Regions from separate parts of the Homo sapiens genome. Here region 2 is linked to region 1. Evidence: promoter capture Hi-C in 16 types of primary human blood cells and fetal thymus (Javierre and others, 2016). All regions are on one chromosome and are shown on one strand. The core of a region is centred on a gene start or on the middle of the fragment in contact, and the rest is flanking DNA. Distances in the headings are between cores, read along the strand shown. Region 1 holds the start of INHBA (inhibin subunit beta A). Region 2 has its middle 44 kb from the start of LINC01449.

Region 1 (7,621 bases), core at 3,419-5,918:
CTGTTTCACATGCACAGCCAAATATTGTAAATATTTTCTTTTTTACCTTTTCCCACCATGAAAAGTTGAGAAAAAAAAATGGGTGTCAACTTGAAAAGTTCCAACCTAGCTTTCTTCCTCAAAAAGCTCCAGAAGATAAAGTCCTAATGATCATGCCTTTTGGGGCTGGGTTAAGAAAGAGCTTTAGGGAAAGAAAGTAGGATCTTCCCTAAGTGAGAGAGGCTTCTGGTGAGAGAGCCAAACTGGGAAGCTTGTAGGACACCAGGGCTTCTCCTGCAAGGGGAAGCCACACAGCCAGCAGGCTATCTGCACCCCCGGAAAGATGCCCTGGTCTTTCATGGTTTTCTTGAAAACAGAACATCTGAGTCAACAGGTTTTCAGATTGGAAATTCTGAGTGTTGCCTTAATTGTTTATACTGCTGCGGCAAACTTTTAAACAAAAATGCTGGGAGTCCCTGCACATACTTTACTGGCCATATGCTCTACCAAACAAAACAATGGCATTCCTTTCAAATGGAGTTGGCAAAGGATGCAATTCTTTAGCCTGGCATTACCATGAAAGTAACACGGTATTAACACATCTGTGTGCCTGACGTGCATGGGCTTGCAGGCATGCAAAGGATCTGTGTCACTTAACTATAAAAATAGCCTGGCTCCAAGTCCATGGGCCCATACTTTTGACAGGTATTGCTATTCAGCAACAGGTTAGTGTGGTCCTGGGCCAACGATTAGAATCTATTTATTAAAGTTCTTCCTCTTAAGGATTGAGTGAGTTCAGCGTAGTATCTGAGAGTACTTTGTCAAGGTTGCGTTCCTTGGCAGAGAGCTCTTAGTAACTTTAGAAAGAACAAAACTGGTTGTTTTATTTATTTTTTTTTCTTTCAGAGAGCAAAAGTCAGTGTCCCAAAAGTAACTGCTGGTTCAATGACAACTGTCCCCCAAAGTAGCTCTTCCCTGTCTTGAATGTGGTGCCTGTGCACTTATAGACATTTTCTAAAGGTAAAAATGACTGTCACTCATAAATATGCCCTGCTTCTCCAATGTGGCCCCAGATTGGACTTTTAAAGGGGAAGGTTTGTTTTAAGAGAGTGACTTCATCTGTGCCATTCCACTCCAATCCTGGTACATTCACCCCTCTACCCTCAATAAAAACTTGGATGGGGTCCGGAAGCCTCCTCTGCTCCCCTAGCACCCGAAAATGCCGCGGCTTTCCTCCGGCTGCTCAGATCTGGTTTCACAGGCAGGGCAAGGCAGCCCCTCACAGTCTGCCTTCCAGCTCAACATTGGCCCCGAGCTTCCTCTCTGTGTGACCCGCTGGGTTTAGTAAGTGTAAGCCAGTCATCTCCAGGCAGAGCTCGACCGAGAATTCCTTTTCTGTAAAGTCCTCTCCCCCTCCCCTGCCTGCCCTCCGTCGGCTAGTCCGCTACCATCACCTAATAACTAATAACCTTCCCAGGCAGTTTCCAGCTGAAGGGAAAAGAAGTTCCTCCTGGGACTGTCAAAGAAATATATTTTACCCTCCCACCCCCCACCCCTCCCCACCCCCTGCCAATGCCAGCACCAACCTGACTCGGCAAACGTGATGATCTCCGAGGTCTGCTCCATAAGTTCATTCATTTCTGCCCTCCTTCCAATGTCATCCTCTATCTCCACATACCCGTTCTCCCCGACTTTGCCCACATGAAGCTTTCTGATCGCGTTCAGAAGCGCCGCCTTGGGTACCGGCTGGGTGACATCGGGTCTCTTCTTCAAGTGCAGCATGTTTAAAATGTGCTTCTTGACGGCCTCCACCATCTCTGGCTGAGAGTTGGGTACATCCTTTGGGAGGGCGGCCAGCGCACAGGACGGACAGTCGGGGGCCGCGCTGTGCCCCTCGGATCCTGGGGTGGGGGAACTCCTCACTATAATCCAGCAACTTGCCAACAGAAATCCTCTCAGCCAAAGCAAGGGCATCCTGGCAGCAAAAGTTGTTGTGATTGCCTTTTTAAAAGGCCCTGCTTTTCCTCCCCCCTCACGCGCAGGTTTTTTTGTGTGTGTGGATTTTTTTATTTTTTTTTTTGGTGTTTTTTTTTTCCTTCTCCTCTTCAGCAAATTCTCTGGAACAAGAACAAAAAGTTTTCTGTGAAGTTTTGTTTGCAGGTTCCTCTCTGAATGCAGTCAGTGCTGTAGGTTTGTGGCTGTCAGGGAGGAGAGTTCTGACTGTCTCCGAGTAAGAGAGAAGGAAGGAGGGAGGGAGGGAGGGAGACAGGGAGGGAGGGAGAGACAGGGTGGCGGGGAGACAGACAGAGACAGAGAGAGAGGATGGGAGGGAGACAGAGACAGAGAGAGAGGAGAGAGGGGGAGAGAAGAGAGAGGGAAAGAAGGGGGAGAGAGAGGGAGAGAGGGAGGGAAGGGAGGGGGAGAGGGAGAGAGGGAAAGGAAGAGAGAGAGAGAGAGAGAGAGAGAGAGAGAGAGAGAAAGGATTGGCCCTAAGTAAGTGAGTGAATGGAGAGGGAGGGAGTTTGCTGTGAGTAGGGCTGTGATTAGGGAGGGAGGGACAGCCCGTTTTCTGACAGGCTGCTCTCCTTCTGCTCTTAGCTTCCTCACAGACACCTCTCTTCAAATATCACCATTTTCGGGGGTTCTACTTTCTCTTCTAAAATAAATTATCCTAATTTTGTTCACTATTTTTTTTTCTTTCTCTGCCCAGTCTCCTGGTTTCACCTTCTTCCTTTTTTGGAGGGGAGAAAAGAAACCCCAAACAAACACAGTGTCTCAATCAATAGGGATGAATTGATTGAAAAAGTGTTCCCACCGCCCCTCCACCCAGCCAAGCCACAGCCCTAGGTGGTAGAACGCCCACCTGGCCACGTGGTGGGGCAGAGGGTGCAGGGAGGTCCAGTGGACAGGTAGTGGAGGTCAGGGAAGAGGGACTCAGGGGTAACAGAGGATTGTTCTGGCCTGATGGGATCCAGGGGAGATGGTCCTTTCCCCCAATTCATTCATATTTAAATGTTCAGGTCATCAACACTGGCAGGCAATCTGAGGAGAGCGCAATGGAACTTTTGTTTGGGGTCATATAATACACTCCACTCTTCCCAACTGTGAAATGCAGCAGGGCACTGAAGGACCAGAGGGCAGGCAGCCTGTCACAAGCCCAAGTTCCAGAAGCGCTTTCTCCCCGTCGCGTTCAGCTGCCCCCTTCTGCCGGGGACCCACTCACTCTCACACATTACAGCCTACCACCACTCGCCGGACTTCACAGATAAAATGCAAAATTCTCTTGGCCTTTCCCACATCCTTTTATAAAAAGAGTGCACTCGTATGACTTGAATAACTGGTCCTATGGGAAAAGACTCTCTAAAATATATTGGCAAATTATTTTTCTCTGTCATGTGGTAGTTTTTTCAGCTTGCCCCAAGCCTGTCCCGACCAGTGCATTCATAGACAGCCTCCTTGACTGCTTCTTTTTCCCTCAAAGGAACAGTGCAGATGAAATCATCATGGATTTTAGTGTGCACAGAAAAAGAAAAATGTGAATTTTTTAACAATGCCTTTCTAAGGCTTAAAAAAAATTCTTCCCCCTCCCCTCTTTTTCATTTTCTGTCTTATTGCTTTTATCTTGCAGAAGAATCTTTAAGGGGTCCATCTGTTAAAGCGTTCCTTCCCTCTCGGTTTCTTTCCCACACATAAGCCCTCTTGGTTTCTGAAGATACACTCAGCTTATATCTGACACCTAGTGTGTTCATAGCATTACAGTCAAGCAATGCAGTTTAGGTGGAAAGAGTTAATAAATATCATTACTACAAGATAAGATCTGAGTGCAAGGGGAAGAGGGCAAGAAAATTGTGACACTAAGTTATAATTACAGTTTGCACAGGTTAACAATGCTTTCTGAATTATATATACTGTCCCCTTTTCCAAAACAACTATTTGTAAGACTTTTTCTGTTACAAGTAACCTAACACCTTTGGGGTTTCAGCTCCAGAAACATCAATTACTCCACCATTATTGTTAAAACTTTGTCAACATTGCCTAAAAAGCCTCATATTTTTTACGGGGATGGTGAAAGAGAATGGGGGAGGCAGGGGACATTTGTGTTACAATGGTTTTATAAAAAATCTTTGTGCTATAATACTTAACATCATCCACCTATTTGGAGTCACATATACAGTACCCAAAATGTTTTGCAGTTCAATTAAGTTTTACAAGAAAGTCTGAAATACAACCAAAAGTTTAATGGCTCTAAACAACTCAGGAGTCCTAATAGCAGCATTTAGATAAGTGCAACTTATCAATATTTGGATTCTCTCTGCATCTGAGTATGTGTGTGTTCCCTGAATTTACTGTTTGCGAATGTAACTCTTAAAAATAGCTTTCTCTTTGGCATATGTACTTGTATATATGTGCTGAGTGGCTTGTATAAACATATAATCTATTTGCATGCTCTAGGACTATTAAAAGCTGTATTAACCTGCCTGAATAATATAAAAAGGTACACATCACAATGCACATTGGAAATGCCAATTAGTTGTAAAATTCCTCCTAGCTTTCCTATCTTTGAATGTGTAAAGAGCTCAGAAGTAAGAGTTAAAAAGCATTACCTTTCTGGTCCCCACTCTTCCACCAGCCGGCTCTTGTATCATGTGGTAAGAGCTGTCTGAGCTCCTCTTCATGGTATTGGCACTGTGAAGTTTTATACTGTACTACTTATTTGTACACCACACATTGGTACCACTGAAACAGAGGAGGGCTGGGGCTTTGTTTGGGATTGGTTGGAATCAGCATGACATCAGCGGATGACTGGTTTTTCCAGTGTGAGACATTTCATAATTCATTATCTAATGGAAAGCCCTTCCTGGCTTCTGAGACACTACTGGGTGATGCACTGAGCCAGTGAAACCTCTGGCTAGGATTACTCTACCTTTTAGAAAAACATTGGAATCAAATAGATATGTCTCAATGAGTGTGTCCAACTTTCAACTTTTACTACTCGCACACACGTCTCGTTATATTCAGGTTCAGTTTTATGTCTTTACATAAAACATCTGTTACTTCATGAAGTTGCTTCTATTTACAAAGTATTTTATTGTTTCTTTCAGGAAAGAAAATTGGTAGTGTTCTTTATAGGGATTCTAATTTTATATTTTTAAAATAAGCTATTTCATTGAGGAAAAAAATTGGGAAAATCTGTATAATCATATGATGATGGTCTCCCCCGACCCCAACCAACTTACACTATTATTTTACATCTTGAAATTGAATGCCTGCTTCATAAATCAAGAACTTTGGAAATAGTAATTCTCTTTAAATGAACTTCATAAGTATCCTTCCCAGGTCTTTAGAATCTCATTCTAACTAACCAAACACACACACACACACACACACACACAACAACAACAACAACAAAAACCCTCATGCATCATTCTTTTTTACCAGAACTTCAACTCCTATAATTTCTAAATTGTTACAAATATAACAGCAGATTAATGAAAAGAAGTGAACACTCCTTGAAATAGGGGTAAAGCTGGTCAGGCTTTTTTTGTGGGGGAGGGGTGTTGGCAAGTCTGGTAAATAACACAGGAGGAAGGGGTCCTCTGACAAGAACGGTGAAGGGTTGTTTGAAGGACTACAGTTGAAGCATAAGCCCAGTTCTCATGACAAGTTGGATAAAATGTGCAAAATTGGGAGCTAATGAGAGCCATATGACCAGATATGTTGTTTTGTATGCAGGATTTAACATGCATAAAATAAACTTTTCACTGTGCCCACAAGCAAAATATAGAGGCTCTGGCCTCCTGATGTGTGGCTTAAGCAGGTTCCATTAGGACACCAGAAGTTTTCTGTGTAAAAGGGTCTCTCTTGGCTAGATACAGAGAAAGTGTGGGTGCTGAGCTGCATGGGGGTGGGGGGAAGGAGTATTCTAAGAACTGCATATGCAGAAATGAAGTAGGAAAAAAATCATTAGGTTGTAGAGGAAGAGAGTGAATCTGAGTGGCGAAGACAGAAATAGGATTAATGATGGTGAACTCCAAACCTGCCCCTCAGCTTAGCACTGGGTGAACTCAAACCCTTTATAAGAAAGAAACTTCTCCACCCTTTTTGCTGAGAATTAGTGGAGTCAATGACCTTCAGGGCATCTAAACTCACCCCTGACCCACACATGAACCCTAGTGTCCTGAAAACATCCCCTCCGCCTCCACACAAAGTAGTGTGTGTGTGTGTGTGTGTGTGTGTGTGTGTGTGTGTGTGTGTGTAGGTGACGTGGGGTGGGGGTGGGGGGCACAAAACAAACCCAGATCAGATCCCAGTTCCTCTGCTCACTCACCGTGTAAACTCAGGCCTCAGTGTTCCCATCTATAAAATGGGATCCATGATATGAACCTGTGGGGGTCAAGTGCAGCTGTCAGATAATAATAAGTGATACTATTTCTGAGAAGCCTGGTGGCTGTTCTTAAACATGGGTGTCACAGGAATCTGCAGCTCTCTGACCAGAGGAGCCACAACACAAGTGTGACTCTGAAACTCCGCTGGCCATCTGATGCCACCGAGTGCCCACCTGCCAGGCCAGCCTACCAGCCGTGCTGCAACCCCTCTGCAACCACCTGCACCACAGTGGCAATGCCTCCTCCCTCGGTGCAAATCAAGGTGGGGGTGGTGGAGGAAGCAGGCAGGTTAAAATAGCTTCTGTGGAATATTCTAGACTGGGAATCAGCTTTTCCCTGCGGAACTCAAGGGCCCGGGGCACAAGCTGGTCAGCCCAGTCCTGACCAGAATCTCCTTCTCCTTCCTTGGTTTGGTTTCTCTTTCACTTCCCCCTCCCCCGGAGCTTCCCCGCACCCCAGGCCCTTCGGGTCCCGGCTTCTCGGCCCTGCTACTGTACCTTGAGCAGCACCTGCTGGCAGCTTCCAGGGATCACGCCGGAACGCGGCCGCTGCTCGAGCCCAGCTCGCAGGATGCCTGGAGCCAGGGCCAAGCCGGTCTAAGCGGCAGCCTCTATTTTTACCCTGAGCACCAGCAAGGGCAACTTCTTTTAAGAGCAGCTCTTGATTTTTTCCCCCCTTTTGGCAGCTAAAGAATTCAGGGAGGGGAAAAAAATCACTGTTCAGTGAGTGCAGCTGGGAATCTCTGAACCCAGCCCTCAGTGCCAGGGAGTGAAACCACAGCAAATGTCAGGGAGCGGGACCTGCGGAGGGGCCGGCTGGCTCCCCGCGGACAGAGGCGAGCCGGGAGCGCTCGCGCACCAGCCAACTGCCCCCTTCTGAGTGCGGAGCGCGGTCCTCCAGCGACTGCACTAGCAAAGTGGCCCGCTGCCACCGCGTTATTCACCTAGTGGAGGCGGCCTGATTTACTGGCGACTTCACAAACCCAACTCCACGCTGGAGCATTTGCATGGCTCTGTTCTCGCCTCGAGGAGCAGCCACTAGCGAACCCGGTGGAGCAGCTTGCTGCGAGAAGGAGCCGGGAGGGAAACTGTGGTACCTTATTTTACTGTAATTGCAAAAGGAACGATGTGCCAGAGATTTATATTTAGAAGTTGTATGTTTCTACTTTTATGTAAATGGAGCAATTAGGGCCTGTCTTGCTGCTGCTAACTCCAATGCGTGTGCATTGCTGGGGAGCTGGTGTTTTCAATCACAAT
Region 2 (7,621 bases), core at 3,064-5,563, 650 kb before region 1:
AAAAAAAGAAAATAAAAAAAAGAATAAATCGGACCTCCATTAACGAAATTTCAGAATAGTGGGATGAATAAAAGGTTTTTAGGGACAGGGTTAGAAGTCGCTGATATTTTATCATGCAAATCTGACCCTTCTTACTGGATCCACTCTCGCTCCCTACAACTCATATACACACATATGAGCACACACGTATGCCCATCCTTGTACAGGCACACACATGCATGCACCCATGTACACACTCCCATGCCCATGCACACACACCGAAGAAGCTGGTTCATAAGACAGAAGTTCTCACCACAAAGAAATGATAAATGCGTGAGGTGATGAATAAGCTAAATATACTGATTGGATCATTATAAACATATGGGTGTATCAAAACATCAAATTGTACCCCTTAAATATGTACAATTACAATGAGTCAATGAAAAAAAATGCAACACTCTTTAGTAAGTTAGAATAAGCTGAATAAAATCCCATGCCGGTTAAAACCTTTTTCCTCCAGGAGGGGGGTGTCCTGCTGACTTCCTTGTCAGGAGGCTACTTCAACTGAGCCTCCAAACAGCCTGCTCTTAGTAATTATTTTGGTATGGATTTGTTTGGGTTATGTCCTTACTGACAGACTTACCAAGGCTTCCCATTCTTTATAAGAACACATCTTAACTTCTTAGTTTATCACTGGGGTCTTTTTCAATCTGTTCCAAACTTAACTTCCCTTCTTGCTCTATCATCTTCCTGCCACCATGCACCCTACACTTCTGTTTCCCTGGATGACTTAATTAATGTCGAATGTGTATTCCTTTGTCATTGTATTCCTTCATCACTTTGTCATGGCTGTTCCTTTGCCTTCCATATCTTCTCAGACTATTGAGCTCCTGTTCATTGATCGAGACTTGGCTGACGTGTGTTTCCTCTGTGAAGCCGCCCAATGGTTTGTCCAGATATTATTACATGGAAATTCTTCAAGGTAGTGGGGCAGCACACCAACAGCGCCTGTATTTCACTTATGTGTTCAGGGCCTGCAGTCAACACTTCATACCGATTAGCTCTTTCAGTCCTCTCCACAACCGTATAGCCTCATTTTATCCTTGAGGAAGCTGAGGCACAGACAGGTCATGGAACTTCCTCAAGACCATGCACATGGCAAGTAGCAGAGCCAAGAGCTGAAGCCAGGCAGACTGAGTTTTCCTCATCCTCTTTTTTTTTTTAAATGCTTACCCCAGCATGAAGTCTGGGGAGGGCAGGAAATGTTCTGTGTGGAGCCTTGCATTTGCTAGCGCCTCATACCAGGGGCTTCAGTGCATGCTTGTGACTGAAGGAAGATGTGCTGATGTTTCATACAGGCTTGTTCAATAATGGAAGGAAGTTTTTGAGATGAGGCCGATCATTCCAATTCCTGCCGCTTCAGGATGGTAGAGAAAAAAACAGAGAGGGAGACATGCTGTCCACAATGACTTGTGTCTGACATTTACCTTAAATCAAAGAATGCTGATGGAAGGAGTTATGAGGACTCTCTATCAAAACCTATCTAAGAGTCAGCCTGACCTTAAATGGAGTGTCTCCAAGCCTCATTGCTCAATTTCAGTGTGGACTTCACTCTCAAAGCCTAGCAGGAATTAAGTTTTTTGTCAGCTTTCCCACACACATGAGGCTCACTTTGGCATTTCCAGGTGGCCTGGGTCATAGCATAGCCTCCAAGCTTCACCGACCTGGGACTTCTTGGGAGGTTTTAGCCTGGGCTGTGCTGCATAGGTGTGCATTGTGTGAGGCTGAGGTGGTGGTGGGCGTGGAAGAGAGCTCATCAGTCTTCATTTCATGGCATAGAAATAATCAAGCCTGGATATTAATTTTGTGGTAATTGCTCCCCGCTTCGTGTTTACAGAGAGAGAGAAACAGCTGGGGCGGTTGACATCTGAAACAGGAGCCGCTGATCATTACTTGCGCAGCAGATGGGCTTGAGTTATGAATAAGCAGCAAATGTGAAAAAGAGATTCGCAGGGGTGAGCCAGGCTTGCTTCGTGCAAAACCGGTTAACCCTTCCTTGCTGTTTGCCACAGTTGCTGCGGGTTCAAGGTTTGGATTGCTGGGCTGCCTCTTTTTATGGTTAGAGACCTGGTACCACCAGATGTGACAGGGAATAAAGTAAAACTGGACTAAAAAAATGCATGAGAAAAGCCCGTGCATGTTTGATAAGTAAGCGTGAGATCGAAACACAACACAGACCCTGCTACCAATGAACGGCAATGCAGCCCCTCTGCCTGGATTTACTCTCCTAGCGTACGCATAAATCAACACCTCCAAAGTGGGTCGGCCTCAGGAGGAATAGGGAGTCCATCTGATGAGGATCCTGGACAGGATGTGATTTGAGAGGTGTCAGAAAGTTCCCATTTTCCACCAATACCTCCTCAACTAACTTCTCACCAATGTCTGCAATTTTATATTTAGGAGAGCGTTCCTTCATGTTACATAACTGAACAAAGCTCATCAAAATGCAATGTCCTTGAGAGGGGTGACATGTTGAGACTCATGAGTTTGTCAGATCCTTTCCAGACTTCATCTTTCGAAGCTCTCAGAGGGCAGCTCCCTGTGGAGTTGGACAAATGATGGGGGAGAGGTTAAGCTGAAGAGGGGCCCTGAGCATAGTGAATGCCTTGAGCATCTGGCTTAACCTGGCTCTGCCACTTACTAGCCATGTAACCTTGGGCCAAGGGCCAAGCCTTGACCTTGAGGCACATAGCCTAAGTTTTGGAATCCTCATTTTTAAAAAGTCAAAATAACAACAGGTACTGTGACTAGGTCATAGGAGTTAGTGCATATCAGACATGGCAAAGATTATGGGAACACCTTGATAGCTACAAAGCAATATACAAGTATAAAATAATAGTGGTGGGATGATCGTGCTTGGAGGGGTGGTGTAGGTCACAGCAGTTCTTGTGATAGGAGGCTTGGTACTTTTCAGAAACTACAAAATATATTGGTGTTGGGGGTATGCAGAAGCGCTTGGAGCCTCTTTGCAGCTCTAGTAACCAAAGCCTTTGTCACAGGAGGCATAATATGGCTAACCAGGAGTCGCTCCTAAGTTGCAGTTATCGAGGGGACTCCTACCAGCATTGCATGGAGCAGGGCATGGAATTTATATTTCTGCTTAATATTGAGGGATATTCTGACCTAACCCAAGAGGCAGAATTAGGTCTTTCCATAACCACAGCAGGCAGAGAACACAAATCAGGAATATCAGAGGTAACCTGGAACCCAACAAAAAGAGGAAGAACTCGGGAGGAAATGGGAGAGAATGCCCAGGGACCCAGGCAGAACAGGCAATCAGTATCTCCAGATGGGACTGGCGGGAAGCACAGCCTCATTAGCAATTCCTGATAAAGACCGATCTTAAAATTAACTTTGAGACACTTTATCAGCAGGAGAGATGAGGGAAAGCCCTGCTATAAGAAAATGAGGTCATGGGGTAGATCTACTGGTGTTCAGAACACCAGTAGAGCTGGAGGAATATGAGCTTAACTTGACGGATATCACAACACTAGCTTACTCCCAGTCTATGAGTTCCCAACAACTCCTAAACGTGGAAGAACTGCAAATTTATATTAAAGCCACTTTTAAAAAAATTGCTGATTTATGGTATGTATTAATTTGTATTGACTTGTATCTTAAAATATCATTCTCCATCCATTTTTAACAAATCCTCTTCTTTTACCTTCCTAAGGTCTCCTGTTAAGGAACACTTACAAGGTATGTTTACAGGTAGACGTATTCACCTGGTGGGTTGAATGAACTATTATAACCAAGATGTTGATATCTAGTGTGGTCAGAAGCTCATATAATAGATTATTGTTTCAGCTGGGCTGGCAACTTGGTTTGCTCCACAAGATAAAGCTTACAACCTGAATTTTTCTGCCCATTTCAGCTCCAAAGCTCATCATTTTCATCTCAAACCATCATTTGATGGCATTTCCCTTAAAATGTCACTAATGTGGTTTAGCTATGTCCCCACACAAATCTCATCTTGGATTGTAGTTCCCATAATCCCCACATGTTGGGGGAGGAAGCCAGTGGGAGGTAATTGAATCATGGGGGCAGTTACCCCCATACTTATTTTCTGATGATAGTGAGTGAGTTCTCATGAGATCTGATGGTTTTATAGGGGGCTTCCCCCAACTACTTACCCTGCACTTGTCTTTCCTGCTGCCATGTGAAGAAGGACCTGTTTGCTTTCCCTTCTGCCATGATTGTAAGTTTCCTGAGGCCTCCCCAGCCCTGTGGAACTGTGAGTCAATTAAACCTCTTTCCTTTATAAATTACCCAGTATCGGGTATTTCTTCATAGCAGCATGAGAACAGACTAATACAGTTACTTTTGTTGACTCCTGGTGTGGTATATATGTATGTATGTATATGTATGTCTATATATATATACTCTCTCACTGCTCTGGGAATAACAATTATTGTTCTTGGGTTGGGCTTTATTTTGGATATCTTTCTAAAATCCTGAGTGAAAGGAATCTCAGAATTGGCTGCTGATTTCTCCACATTACAAAGCTGAAGTTCTCCCTTAATTTACTTTTCTTTTTCTATTCCTTTCCTGATGATTTTTTCTTGTTCTTATCCTTATCATAGCACGTGCTTTAGTGGTTTCTCTTGTGCCTGTCAGTTTAGGGCTCCAGCCCTTTCCCAAAGGTCCCACATTTAGGTTTTAGGGTCATCAGGGGGTTTCCAAGTGATCTCACAGTCAGTTCTCTTTAAGCTTCAACCACCAAGACCCTTCCTCTCTTGCTCAATCTGTCAGTGTCACCTCTGTCACCACCTCTCACACTTAACAGGACCCAAATTCACTCTTGAGGTGCTGGCACCCAGGTGTGCTAGAGCTTAGCTCTTTGGTGAGTCCTCCATGTGCCAGAGCTGCTCAGGGTCCTTTACAGGAATTAGAAACATTGTCCTCATGGTGCTTTTGAGTAATGCTAAGATAGAGGAGGAAAAGCTAAACTTTTACCTCAAATTATTTAGAGAATTTAGCAGATCCCACTGCCATCCCTGCCTCTCCAGAACTGGGCAAAACATGATACTCTGAGTGCTGCCACATCCACTGTCCCCATCTGAGGCCATAAGCCACGGCAGTCCCTCGGGCACAAATCAAAATGGGTCACACCATGGGATCCCGTGAGCTGGTCTCACCTGTGGACCAAGGGTGGGGATCGGGGCCAAAGACAGTCCTCTGGATAGAGGTCAGCCAATGGGCAGATTGGGGGAAAGCTCTCATCAACAGGGCACTGATAGGGATTAACTTAACCAGGAAACCCTTCCTTGTGGAGTTTGAACCCAAAATACGCAGTCACTAGATTACTTGATCACAGAGACAGGGAGGAGGCACAGCACCAATATGGCAGGGCCCTGGGGAAGAGAAAATCACAGGCTCTTGACCTGGGGAAAATGAGGCGTTTCGATCAGCAAGGTCTGGGTTTTGCCGTAGATAGCATTTAAGTCCAAGTAAAGAATGATCCCTTCATTTTGTCTCCTTTCAAGCAGCAGCCCTCAAATAAGGTGGACAGCCTATGTCTATTCCTTGTGACCCAAAAGAGTCTAATGATTTGGCTCTTGCCCCCTCCCCTACTCTCCTGCTGGAGCAAGGAGGGATTACTATGTTGCCAACTGGGCTGCTCCTGGAAAAGAGAGCTGCTTTTTCCCCTTAATCCTTTTGATACCAACAATTAGAGTTCAGAGGAAAATAACAGCCTCAAACATAACTAATGCAGTGCTAGTCCCAGCCAAGGTGCCGTCCCTACCCTCTCTATGTGGCAAAACTCCCCACTGGAGGAACCAAGGAATCAGGAACTTTGGGCTTAGGTAATGACTGCAGAATTGGGCCCAAGCTGAGTCAGCCACAGCCCTTGGCATATCCCCAAGTGAAAGAAACAGCAGGTTGAGGGTTACTTAAGATATGAACTCTTTAAACCCTCTCCCATTGGGAATGCTGACAAGCCAGATAAAGTGCCTCCCTTCCTTTGTCCCTCCTCATCTCAGCAAATGACAAAGTGCAGGTTGTTGCCTCCAGGTGAGCACAGCTCTGAGGAAACAAGGAAAGCAAACAAATACTGCTGTGTGGCTGAGTGGTTCCCAGGCTCCATTTCAAAGGCAGTCCCTTATGGCTTTGTTTGCTCCTGTTTTTCCCAGCATAGGTGTTTGATATCACACAGACCCATTCTGAATTTCCAAGAAGAGGAGTATTTAGTTTACAGTGGGTAGCCGAGAGTATCCTAGTTTGAAAAAGGGAATAAGTTATCTGTCCACCAGGTATATTTAAAAGCCCCTGATTGTGCTGGTATCAAGGTGCTGATGGGACATGAGAAAGTTCAATTCGGGTATCTGAGAAAAGCACCTATGGCAATGGCTTTTCTGAGACAACTCACTGGCATTATTCACCCTTGGTTGAAGGTCAGCATTCTCACTGGAACCTCACTCCCGGTTCCCAGCTTCAGGTGTGGCAGGAGAAGGTTAGGACATCAGGTGATTGCTTACACAGGTACACTTGGAAAAGACTCAATACACTTCAGAGAAAATAGTAAGTGTGGGATTCCTCTAACACCCCATGTATCATCAGCGATGTGTTGAAACTCTCACAACTATTCCCCATTTTTCCTCTGACACAGACATGACTAAATTGTCAGGAGAATTTCTATTCTGCTTCCCTTTACTCTAGCCCAGAGAGATACCAAAATGCGCAAGCCTCGGCCATCATCAAGGAACTGAGAAAATGTGTCTTCAACCATGAGGAGGAAAATTCAAAGGAGTTCCGAACACATACAAATACATGTAAAGGGACAGAGATGAAAGGAATGGAGCCATCGGAGCGGGAGTACAGGGGGAGAGGGAGCAGCACCTATGCCCAAGCCCCGACTGGGCAGCCTGGGCCAGCCCTCAGGATGAGAGCAAGGTTCTCAATGCCCTTCCTCACCTCCCTCCTCAATGATGTTCTTCATCCTCACCATCCCATCACCTCCAGAGACTAGTGTGTTTGTGGCACCCTTCTTCCCAGTCAAGCCTGCTCTCAGAAATCATCCTTGGGAAGGTAAGAACAATAGATGGGGCATAGTATATCTTTCAACAATGCCTTGAGTATTTGCATTTTCACAGAGGAAGTATTGAAGATGGTACCTCAGTTCGAGGTTTTCAAAAAGGACTTATAGGTAAATAAATCACACAGACAATGGCACCTGCCTAAAGATTAGTGTAATATAAGTGCTTTGTCCCTGGAACACAAGGCGATATTGTTAGCAAAAACTTTTATTGAAAAATATCTCATCAATTAGAAAACATGATAAAGCCTTCCTCTGTCCACCCATGTTCCCTCACTTCCAATTCCATGCCACATGCAGGAAATGGCTTGGGCAGTATGCCCGCAGGCTAGGGTCAGCCGTGTGCTAGCAGCTGGACTCAGCACATCTAACACGTACATTATTCTAAACTTCAGGGCATTTTGAGGCATGACTGACAATGGCAACAGGGGTGTGGATTGCCTTCACGTGCACTGGGCTTGCATTTGAGTGCCAGGCTGTAGCTGTGTGTCAAGCATGGGAAATTCCTTACCTACTCTTGCTATCAATAAATGATTCGTACAGCTC

The links. Contacts are between HindIII fragments. The CHiCAGO score rates a contact against its expected background, and 5 or more counts as called.
Region 2: a fragment that was not itself captured here is called in contact with the fragment with the promoter of INHBA in region 1 in 1 of 17 cell types (neutrophils); the score reaches 6.4 in neutrophils.

What each region holds. Positions count from the first base shown.
Region 1 is chr7:41,698,422-41,706,042 of GRCh38, forward strand. INHBA (inhibin subunit beta A) reads right to left here and starts at 4,669. Exons shown (of 3, transcript NM_002192.4): 1 at 4,584-4,669; 2 at 1,566-2,096. The coding sequence starts at 1,953. All of the region lies in intron 1 of INHBA-AS1 (INHBA antisense RNA 1), which reads left to right. RefSeq lists an enhancer at 6,710-6,799. The HindIII fragment of the contact is 6,998 bases long and covers 1,685-7,621 here.
Region 2 is chr7:41,053,551-41,061,171 of GRCh38, forward strand. No RefSeq gene overlaps it. Among named protein-coding and RNA genes, the nearest start is that of LINC01449, 44 kb to the right of the region's middle. RefSeq lists enhancers at 741-1,035, 5,609-6,460. The HindIII fragment of the contact is 867 bases long and covers 3,881-4,747 here.